Linked DNA regions of Homo sapiens: all the other regions are linked to region 3. Evidence: promoter capture Hi-C in 16 types of primary human blood cells and fetal thymus (Javierre and others, 2016). All regions are on one chromosome and are shown on one strand. Each heading gives the region's core, a stretch centred on a gene start or on the middle of the fragment in contact. The rest is flanking DNA. Distances are from core to core; before and after follow the strand shown. Region 1 overlaps PDE11A (phosphodiesterase 11A). Region 2 overlaps PDE11A (phosphodiesterase 11A). Region 3 holds the start of IFT70A (intraflagellar transport 70A).

Region 1 (3,756 bases), core at 861-3,360, 100 kb after region 3:
AAACTTCAATGGAGGGGAAAAAATCCCTACTGAGCAAACTATAGCATCTAGATTTAGTGGTCATACTCCCTCGGCATTTACAGTAAAGTTTGTCTACCAATAAATGGGTCTGCTGAAGAGAAAAGGGGGCACCTTAGCCCCATTTTGAGGTCCAGAGACCAGAACCTTTCCAGCTGATAGGGAATCACCATCTAGGACCAACAAACTCACATGTCTCCTTTACCAGAGTATGCAATGTAACAAGCCAATTGCAGGTTGTCTAATTATTCATGGGAACGGGATAGTTTTGATTGAATTTGCTTATCTTTCTTTTCAAGATGAATGCAACCAAATATTGATTTGGCATTAATTAACTATTGATTTAGGCCTAACTGGTCCTTTCCTTACCAAGCTCAGAGTTGGAAAAACCTTACAGTCTATATATAAATGACTTTCTTTCCCAACCAGAAGCTTCTGAAGGCACTTACTATCAAATCATAAAACCTTAGTCATGTTTTGGGAATATGTTGACCCTTTAGCCTCAACTACGGTTGCAAGTGCTTGTGTATGTAAGTCTCAGAAAGGCAACACAGTCCAGTACAATTACATATGTTGCGTAGATGTTTGATGCATACATTTAAAAATTGGATTAATTTTATATATAACTTTATTATTATATTCTATTACATTTATAACCACTTCTAAGGCTTAATTTTTAACCTGTTTATTAGCATAAATTTCAAATTCTTTATTTTGGAGAGTTAAAAACATACAAAAAATAGAATACCATTAATATAATGAACCCAGTGCAGTCATTGCCTAACTTCAGCAGGAATCCAGGTTTTGCGGCTTGTTTCATCTGTCTCTTCACATGCAGTGTGTGTTTGTTTTGTTTTGTTTGCTAGCGTATTTCAAAGCAAACCTCTGGTATCTGTCAACACTATTTCATTCTCAAGAAGTCCTAATGTGGTCAAATAAAATTTGCTCAATATATTTCTGCTGTCTTATTTTGATAAAATGTACAAAAAGATATACAAATAATATAAGGAAATTTTCAACTAAATAATAAGACTTGAGAAAGTGGAGGTTTCTACATCAAAAGATAATAAATAAACATAGCTGTATGTATATAGCACATATAATGCATTTTAAAAGGAACCAAAAGAAAAATATCAGATTCTTAAGGACTTAGCTTTCAACCCTAACAATATTTGTGCTTTATGATTTTTTTTGAGGACAAGGACGGTATGTTTTGTCCATGTTTAGAAATATAATTTATATTTTATTTCTGATAAATTACCAGTGAACTGCATATAATATAACATATGGTTTATGACCACAGAAAATGAAGCAGATCACTTGCTGCACATTAATTGTGTAGAAAGACAGATCTCTCAAAGTGCCACAGAGCCCAGGTTGGTGAATTTCAAGAATTTGAGGCTTCTTCAAAGCTCAAATTTTTATTAGCCATAATTCAGCCGAAACTAAACTTGAGACCCATGAAAATTTAAAACTTTTTATAGCTCCCAACTTAACACCCTTAGGTGCCAGGTTTCAGTCCCAAGAAAGTGCCACTAGGAAATCATACACCGTGGAAAATGGAGGCTGTGATAAATGACCATGGCTCTGCTGCTGGGTCTCCCTGACCTGGAGGATTTGGCTGGCGTCATAAAACACAAAGCGACAGATTAAGCAGTTTACCAACATCATAAAAATCTCAAGAATAAATTCACTTTAATCAAAAATCCTATATTGTAACTAGGCAGCCCCAGCCTCGAAACCACATACATTTACGTATAAGCCTATGTCCGTGAGCAAGAGGTTATACTTTCCCTGTAACGTCGGACATGATTATGTTCATACACTTTTACAATTTACATGTCCTAAGAAAAATACCCAGCTCTGGCTGATGGTGCGGGAGAATTTATTTTCACTAGAAAGGGAATGACCCATAACTCATGAATGGCAGCGCTTAAAGTGAGTTATGGAGGTTACTCTCCTGTGAGAGGAAATGGATTGGATTATCCTTCTGCCCAATTGTATGTTTGGTTATTAGCACACCAGGTTCTTAATTATGTGCAGCTTTGCCTTTTTTCTTTTATAAAATAAATGTGGATAAAGGCAATGTCAGCTGGAAGCATGGAGTGCCTAATTGGGGCTCTGAGATGCAGTCAGAGAGAAGAAAAATAGAAACCTTTTTTAAATGATTAAAAGACAGGAGTCTTAAATGTAATTTAAACACAGTATTCAAATTGATTAGCCCCATAGTTAATTTATTGTGTCTGGTGCTGATGTTCTGCAAAAACATTTAAAAATTACTCCTTTTCTAAATTAAAAATTTGCCATCTTGTAGGTTACATTTGCATGAAGATTAAAGAGTTGGTTATTCTATCATGTAGATTTTATTATAGTATTACAATAATGCTGCCATTTATTTTAAAGTAAATATAACAAGTTACTACTTTTTTGATAAGGAAATACAATGTAAAAATGATGTTTGATGATTACAAATATGATTACTGTTTATTAATTTATTTCAGTCAGTTACAGAACAAAACATCTAGATCTCTCTGTAACTTCCAGTGTTACAGTCTACAAAGGAATTTGATTTCTGTTGAGATTAGGATTCTGATTATTGAGTAAAAATATTTTATTTAAAATTTCAATTGGTTCTGTATTTCTTGGACAGGGAGGGAGGAGTTTCAGCTGTGCTTCTAAGATCTTCCAGAATGAATTTTCTACCTCAAAAATCAAGGACTTTTCTGGAAACTGCAGTCAGAGGACAGAACATCAGCCTCAAGCTGGTAAATAGGATGGATTTTCTCCCTAAACATCCCTTCTGCTTTCTAGTTTGAATTATCAATAAAATGGTTTGGCTTATCTCTGAAAATAACCTTGTTGACAACACAAATATGGATTTAAACACGCTACCTCCACATTAAGATTTAAGAAGCCCCCAGTAAATGTCAGGGGGTGTCAATGTGTTTGCTGTGATACTTGGTTATTATTAGTGTTTAACTGCAATTCCCCACCAGCGCCACGCTGCCTGCACCACCATAAATTTTAATGTGATCATGTGCTCTTCTCTTTTCATATCCAGTGAATTCTGCAAGATCATAATATTCTATATGAACCCTAGCTGAACCTTAGTGTGATATGAAGAAAGAACAAGATTTCAAGCAATAATAGTTGTTCACCATTTTATAGCTTTTTTTAACTGGACACTGAGCAACATGGTTCCTTGAATAATATTACCCTAAACTAAATTCACTCATTCAATTAATCTTTATTGATACCCTACAGGATGCAGGGCATGGCTCAAAGTGCTAATGAGTACATTTATGGGATAGTAAAGAATACTGACTCTTAAAGAAATCTTTTTTTTTCCCCTTGGAAAATCTGTCAGAGCTCATACATCATTTATAAAACCGAAAAAAATGTCTCTGCAACCTTGGCACCACTACATGCCTTTTATTTTACAGAATACAAACAAAAGCAGAGTCATTTCCGATATCTAGTCTACATCGTGAATATAAGAAATATGTCCCTCATCTTTTATCATGTATTTATAGTTATAATTTATTTATTATGTATGTGCATGATGGAATATTTGTTCTATAAACTTCTATTAGTAAAGAAAATTTATATGATGATCATTCATCTGCAGGTTTTCTTCCTCATTTTAACCACAAATAATAACTGTCACTACCTACTGTATTTGTCAGAGGAATTCAAAGTATTTGGGAAATTTTAACTATCTAAATATCTTTTTAAAAA
Region 2 (3,845 bases), core at 947-3,446, 86 kb after region 3:
TATTTCTTTAAATCTTGCCTTAATTTATATTATTTAATAAGTGAAGATTTGCTAGGCGAATCTTAGTGATAAATTAATACTTAATGTTAGTTACTATTTGTCTTACATAGAGTTCATTTCTATGAAGACACGTGTTTCAAAACGTATACTATATGCCTTTGTCTTGGCTGTTGAAATTCTGTGATGCTTTATATGCATATCACATCCTAGAGCCTGGCATAGAGTAAGTGCTTTAAAAAATATTGGTTGCTTGTCTAATAAGCTTACAGTAGTTACTATGTCGAGAGATTACAGTTCAAGTTGGGAGGTTGATAATAAGTGTGTTAGCATATTTTATAATACTAATATTATTATTAATAAAGCTACCATTAGTATCTACCATGCGGTAGTCTATATATTAACAACTTAATACATTATAGCATTTAGTCCTGACAATGACCATGATATAAGTATTATTTTCTCATTTACACATGAGGAAAACAGGGCTCAGAGAAGTTAAGTAACTTTTCCAAGGTCACACAGCTAGCTTGTACCAGTTCCAGATTTGAATCCAAGTTTTTAAGCTTCTTGTTACATAATGAAAATGATAATTATAACATACATTTCTGACATTTGATTCTCCATTTTTACTAAGCTGATTGTTATCAATGAAAGAAGATTTCAAAATCTAATTCAGAATTCTATTAGTATCATTGCTAACCACAGGCTGATTCCTGTGATCATTCCTATGAATCAGCCATGCTCACATGCACCTCACTTACTAGTGTGAATCTTTTGTATCTAGTCAAGATACAAAATGTTATCTCTTCCCTTATTCATGTTGGGTTAACAGACTCCACAAAAGCTGCATCAGCTAGATGATCAGAAGTCACTCTGTATCTTCTTTGTTTTGGTGAATAAGGAATGTTTTCTCCTTTAAGGGAGTGGGGATGGGGACGATAACAACAGCTTTTAACAAATACACCATGGCTTCTGAGGCACTGCTCCTTCCTGTGCGTAGGATGGAGGCCTCTCTCCCATATCCATATGTCTCCGATCTGGTGTGTTCTATCTCCCAGTATTTGTGCAAAGGCAGCCACTGTCTATGGTTTGACCATCTTCCTCGTCAGATTCCCTCTTTGTTCTCTTTTGTAATTCCATCTTACTTTCTGCCCAGCCTCACACAATACTGATTCAATCACAGAAAATAGGTAGATTTTGCCACTGAACCAGACTAATGCCATGAAAGTGTGGGGAGACTTTGTTATTCATTCATTCATCTATCATTCATTCAACCAATAAGCATTGATAACTATTATGTCAGGCCCCAGGCATGTGGAATACAAAGAGAAATAAGACATGTTCTGACCTTCAGGAAGCTCACAATCCCCTATAATTGTGTCAGGAATTTTTCTCTGATCAACCTTGCACTAAAAATGCTCACTTTTCTGCAAACAAGGTGCCATCTTAGCCCTCAGAGAATGGAGCATGGTACTAACTCAACTTTGAGGGGTTTTTTTAAAGTAAAACCATCTAAGCAAGAATACTTCCATTTCCAAATGGATCCCTTATTTACACTATTAGATTTGGCCCCTGGCAGATTTTCTAGACTGCCAAAGCCCTCAGTGCCTTTTGTCTCAGGCCAAGGCCCATTAGGAATGCTGCCTGTATCTGCTGTTACACACTGGGAACTTCCTGGGACCACCAAGAGCCAAGTCTACAGTCTTGATATAAGTGGCAAAAAAAATAAATAAATAAAACATATCTGTGAAGATAAGCTTTATCAAAAAGTATTCTACAGAATACTAGTTCTTCTGAATGTTAAATGGCATTAAGAGAAGAAGTAAAAAGGGTTCCGTGGCCAAATAAGTTTGGAAAATGCTGGCTTTAAAAAGTGAATCTGTTTATTTATGGTAAGGATTTTCCAGAGGCGGCAATATGTGAAAATGCATTGTGATTTTGTGGGAGGGGAACATAACAAGCAGCATTATCTACTTTTAATTGATTGTGAAACCTCTTTTTTTTTGAGACGGAATCTCGCCTGTCACCCAGGCTGGAGTGCAATGGCGCGATGTTGGCTTACTGCAACCTCCACCTCCTGGGTTCAAGCGACTCTCTTGCCTCAGCCTCCCAAGTAGCTGGGATTACAGACATGCACCACCACGCTTAGCTAATTTTTTGTATCTTTAGTAAAGGCAAAGTTTCACCATGTTGGCCAGGCTGGTCTCGAACTCCTGACCTTGTGATCTGCCCGCCTCGGCCTCCCAAAGTGATGGGATTATAGGCATGAGCCACTGTGCCTGGCTGATTGTAAAACCATTTTTAAAGAGGTCATGTCTCTCACATAATACACTTCCACTTATAAAGGTATGCTTCTACTTTCTCACATAAAATATGAAAAAAAAACCCTGAGATCAATCACATATGGAAAAAATTGACTTTAACAGCACACCTCATTTTAATTGTTTGTGCTAAGTATATCCATCATATAAGTGTCTTTGGGGCACACATCCTTTAGTTGTGAAAATATGATTATATATACATAGGGTGTATGGAGAGAGGAAGAGAAGAGAATCCAAATTCCATAAGTACAAATACCTTTATACATGTAAGTATTCATGATGTGCATTATTGATGGTAGGTCATCTTAACATACTAAAGCTTTTCATTTTGGATAGGCAGCTCAATGAGGAGAAACTTATTAAAAAGAAAAGTCAAGGTGGAAATTTCCCTATAGGCATTTGGCACTTTGCACAGGCACCAAAAATGTGTGCAAATGTAAATGTACCTTCATAACTTCCCTAGATATGCATATTCTTTGAAAAAGAGACTGAATGGCAGTGTGCAGCTGTGACTTAAAGGAAACTTTAAAAAGGAAAACTATGAAAGGTAATTAGGAAATTGAGAGTTGTTGGGAGATGGTGAGGAATGGGATTAGGCTGTCATGGCAGATTAATGTGCCCCAGTATTTCACTTCTGGGACCTGGCCGAAAGCGACAAGATGGGTTTTCATTCCCAAGAAATGAGTATAAGAGATTATGCTAGAAATGAATAGAAGAAGTCTCCTAGGAGAATATACTACAAAGCTGCTTGGTACTGATATTTAATCATCAGGGGCAGCTGTAATAGAGAGAAGGATGAGTGGGGAACGCTGTCCCTAGAGAAAACAGGGGAGAGGTGTGAACAGAGCAATTTCAAAGCACTGTGGTATTGCTGCCCTCTCTACCTATTGATCATTCATTGTATGCACTCCAATACTTAAAAATTAAGAACAAAATATGAAAATGCGAAGGATCACTTGTCAGAAAGGCTAAGAGAATAAATCAAATTGTGCTCTAACGAAAGCCACACTTTTTATTGTAGAGGCATTTTGCATTTTATATAGTAATTTGTCCCTTGCTAAATGTCTCCTGTTTTTTTATAGCCTTATATATGAAAAAAAGGTAGCATATACTTTGCTGCATAATAATTGGTGCATTTAAATCCCATTTTCAAATCACTTCAAAGACTAGAATTCGACTGGGAGCACTTTAAGAGAAGGGATGTTTGCTATATCTCTTTATTTCTCCCACAATTCCTAGCACAGCATCTTGAATATAGAAAATACTCACTTACTGGGAAATAAAAAACAAGAAAAGAAGATAGGTTTCTTGCAAGGGATTTTCTCAACAATGGCACACTCACTGAATAAATCTCATTCTAATCAATAAAAAGGTAGTTCCTTGACCATGATGCTAAAAAGCCTCTTTCAGCATTCATCGTCAAGGGAAATCTTAACGGAGGTTGGGTAATGGTGGCATTAAGTGTCCTAAGTGCAAAAATGACTCCATAAGGTAGGTGCAGTGCCCCTGACATCCCATGAGCTG
Region 3 (3,661 bases), core at 1,141-3,640:
CCGTACTAACAGTGCTTTGGTCCATGACATACCCTTTTGACAGCCCAAAGCTGAAACGTCAACTCTATCTGGGGTTACTTGCTTATACAAAGATGTTACTCTAGCAATTGTTGCTTGAGGGCAAGACCAGATGATTGTCACTAGTAGGAAGAAAGCAGAAGTGATGCAGCTTACACTGCATAGTCCCTACCCTTCTGGATTAAATGAAAAAGTTGCTCAAACATAAACTTGTTCTTACAAAGTGGATAAGATTCAAAATAAGACAAATATAAAGATGCCAAGGCTAAATACAGATAAAAAAAAGTGTGGTACGTAAGAAAGCCATTTTGAAAAAAGCCACTATCAGTCATAACTACTTATTCCATCCTATAATCTCATAAATCAAAGCTTTCAATTGTCTGGACTCATCTGTGACTGTATTCTTCCCAACATGCATTCTTTCTTCTTCGAGGGGTTGTTCAATAACAGCAGGTATGTTTGTGCCATAAAGTTCACAGTGTCCTAAAAACTGGACACATTCTTGAATAACACTGTCATGAATGACTATCATGTGTTTTGACATGTTTTCTAACAAGGACAGGAAGCATCTTTTGGCATAATACCAGGTATCTGTTCCCAGCTTTTTATTATAAGGCTCCAAGCTTTTGATAACTCGAGAAATACCAAACTCATAGTTTCCTTTGGCACAATAAAGAGTTCCTATCACCAAATTCACAATGCAGAGATGGTACATTTTCCGATTTGGGTCATCATAAGAGAGCTGCTCTTCCTCCTTTTCAATCTTCCTCATCAACTCCTCTGCTTCTTCATTTTGACTTGTCATAATATAGGAAACACAGAGATTAGCCAGTACAATAGCACTGACATTCAGGATGTTATCATAATGCTTCTTGACTATGGGTTCATAGAAACCAATGGCTTCTTTGTATTTGTTTTCCTGCATGAACAGAACATGAGCCACATTCAACTTCCACACATCATGGTCGTTACAGAATTCCACAGATTTGCGGAAGACCTTTTCCACCATTGGATAATTTTCAAGATTCCAGTAGATTTTTGCCTGAGCCATCAACACAGGAATGTATTTCTCCATGGTTTCATCATATTCATTCACTGCCTTTTTGATAGCTTCATCATCTCTGTTGTGTCTTGCTTCCTGTACTTGCTTGGTGAGTCTCCGAAGCTGCTCAGTCAGCATCCCTGCTAGCCCATCAAGCTTAATGAAAGCCTCTTCAGGAGCTGTCTGGCAAGTGATCAGGGCATCTAAGAAGTCATAGAGATAGGGTGTGAGGAACTTATACGTCAAATGGGCATTTTCTGCCAGGACATCTGCTGCCAGGTCAAAATACTCATATTTACAGTAGAGCAGCAACAGGTTGCCAAAAGTCTCTGGAGGAAAGGGATTCTGTTGGAGCAAAAACTGTAGCTTTTCAAACCCTTCTGTAGGCCTGGCATCCATGTTCATTAGTGCCTGGTTGTGCAGGGTCACAGGGTCCAACTCTTCCTCTGCCCTGGGTGGCATGTCGGTGAGGGTTTCTTGAGCTACCTCATAGTTTCTCAGTTGGTATTCTATGGCTGCCTTAAGGTTGAAGGCTTCCACCAGAGCAGTCTGATGGAGAACTAAGGTGTTGCCAACACTGCGAACATCAAAGCCCTCGGTGGTCATGCCCACACCTAGCTCAGGATGCTGGCGGATGCCACGCTCAATAATCTCAGCGATATGCTTCAGTGCTGAGGCATACTGTCGGCTGCTGTAATAGGCCAAAGCCAGGTTGTAGGAAAGGTCAGGCTGGTAGCCCGAGGCCTGCAGTGTGGCAGAAAACTTGGAGCATGCAGCTTCATACTGTCCCTCCTTGTAGAGCAAACAACCCAGGTTGACCTGGCCATCGGTCTCATTGTCGCCTCCACTTTCTTCTCCCCCTTCCCCACTCAGCAGCTGCTCCACCAGGCTCCTGGACCCTGGCAGATCGCCCTCGCTATACTTGATGGCAGCTTGCAGGCGGAGGACCCGGCTGTGGTAGGCGGGGTTATCCAGGAGAAGGAAGGCGACCCGAGTGGCCTCCGGATAAAGGCAGGCCTTGTACAGGGCCTGGGCCTGGTACAGGCGGTACTGCTCCAGTTCCGGGTGCAGCTGGCCCAGCTGCTCATAGCACTCGGCCGCCAGCGCGAACTCCTGCAGGCGGTAGTAGCAGTAGCCTAGCAGCGACAGGCCGGCACGGCTCCTGGGGCTCCGCTGCAGTTCTCGGCCCAGCAGCTGCACCGCCTCGGCGTAGCGGGCATCGCGGATGAGCCGGTACACTAGCGCGGTAAACTCCCCGTCGGGGATCTGCGCGCCGCTCAGACCAGCCATAACCACCACGGCTGTTATGCGTGCGGTTACCACGGCAACAGGGCAACCGGGCAACCGGAAACGGAAGACGACGGGTTACTTTGCCACGGAAGGAATCTGTTAGGAATAAAAAGGGACCGTTCTCGTTAGTCTCTCAAGTTCGGTTTGATCTTCAAATATTCTGGACTGCAGCGTGGCGGCAGTCAGAAGGGGAAAGACGACTACTCCGGGCCGTTCAGAGACTGAATCTTCCCGGTCCCGGCATGCATCGTTCCTGTGGCGCCGCTGCGCAGGCGTGGCCGCACTGCATGCTGGGAGGCGTAGTCCCTGTTGCACCGACCCGACTCGCGGCCCGTGTGGACGCACGGTCACTCGCCTTCCCTGCCCCCTAAAGATGAGGGGCACTCTCTGTGTCTGTTGTGCCACCTCGGTCTCTAGCGAATCGGAGGAAGATTTCCGGCACCATGTTCTGGCGATTTTGAGCCTTGTGCATTGGTGTGGTCTATACTAATGCTGGCGTTTGGCTTACTTTTAATAAAGTAGAGATCGTCAGTACAATAAAAGGACCTTTTAATAAAAGGAGCGGGATGGCAAAAGGGAGTTAACTCCTTGAATTCCCTTGGAATTAGAGCAGGTTCTTATGCTACCCCGAGGGCACAGTTTGTAAGAACAGAATACAGCAGCAAACAGAAATCCTTCTTATTTTGGTGGTTTCCAGAGGTTAATAAGGAAAAAGTGCTGTGAATCTTAATTGGTACTGGGAGAGGATCTGTTTTTGATCGCAGTATCTCTCCTTTTCCATGACAAAAAAAAAATTACTGAGTATATGTTGGCGTTTACACTTGGTTGTATCCATTGCTGTGGTCCTCCAACTGTCTCTGCCAATAAGAAATCAGTATCTTTTGTCATCTCCCATGATATCCATTGGTCTCTCTAGCACCTAATATAAACCTAATCCAAGTAAAAGTGTGTTGTTTGCTACATAATTACTGCAAATCCTTTGTATGCATCCATAATAGTGTTACTGCCCATAAATCTTTTCTGTATATAAACTTCACAGCTATCATACGGTTGATAACGATGTCAACCATATCATATAGCACCTCTATTAGAGACTGTTTACATATAGTATTTCTAATTTGAATAAGCAGCCTGCATTCTGCATATTGTAGTTTAAGAAGTCTGTGGGCTAGAAAGGTTTAAAGATTTAAGTATTACATTAATTAAATCAAACTATTAAATTAATAGTTTGTTTAAAGCCACATCTAGGTAGGTAGGGGCTGAACCATGATATCCAATAACCAATTTCAATAGGAAATAGTGACTGATGAA

The links. The method cuts DNA at HindIII sites, captures the fragments that hold promoters and counts their contacts. A CHiCAGO score of 5 or more calls a contact.
Region 1: a fragment that was not itself captured here is called in contact with the fragment with the promoter of IFT70A in region 3 in 1 of 17 cell types (megakaryocytes); the score reaches 6.2 in megakaryocytes.
Region 2: a fragment that was not itself captured here is called in contact with the fragment with the promoter of IFT70A in region 3 in 1 of 17 cell types (megakaryocytes); the score reaches 5.6 in megakaryocytes.

What each region holds. Positions count from the first base shown.
Region 1 is chr2:177,720,421-177,724,176 of GRCh38, forward strand. The region is part of intron 12 of PDE11A (phosphodiesterase 11A); the gene reads right to left. PDE11A-AS1 (PDE11A antisense RNA 1) reads left to right here. Exons shown (of 5, transcript NR_136171.1): 5 at 2,669-2,869. Among named protein-coding and RNA genes, the nearest start is that of PDE11A-AS1, 49 kb to the left of the region's middle. The HindIII fragment of the contact is 3,324 bases long and covers 449-3,756 here.
Region 2 is chr2:177,702,855-177,706,699 of GRCh38, forward strand. All of the region lies in intron 13 of PDE11A (phosphodiesterase 11A), which reads right to left. The region is part of intron 4 of PDE11A-AS1 (PDE11A antisense RNA 1); the gene reads left to right. Among named protein-coding and RNA genes, the nearest start is that of PDE11A-AS1, 31 kb to the left of the region's middle. The HindIII fragment of the contact is 883 bases long and covers 1,756-2,638 here.
Region 3 is chr2:177,616,352-177,620,012 of GRCh38, forward strand. IFT70A (intraflagellar transport 70A) reads right to left here and starts at 2,391. Exons shown (of 1, transcript NM_152275.4): 1 at 1-2,391. The coding sequence starts at 2,350. The coding sequence ends at 353. It overlaps IFT70A-AS1 (IFT70A antisense RNA 1), which reads left to right. Exons shown (of 3, transcript NR_198966.1): 2 at 950-1,169; 3 at 1,937-2,887. RefSeq lists an enhancer at 2,464-2,693. The HindIII fragment of the contact is 8,599 bases long and covers 1,215-3,661 here.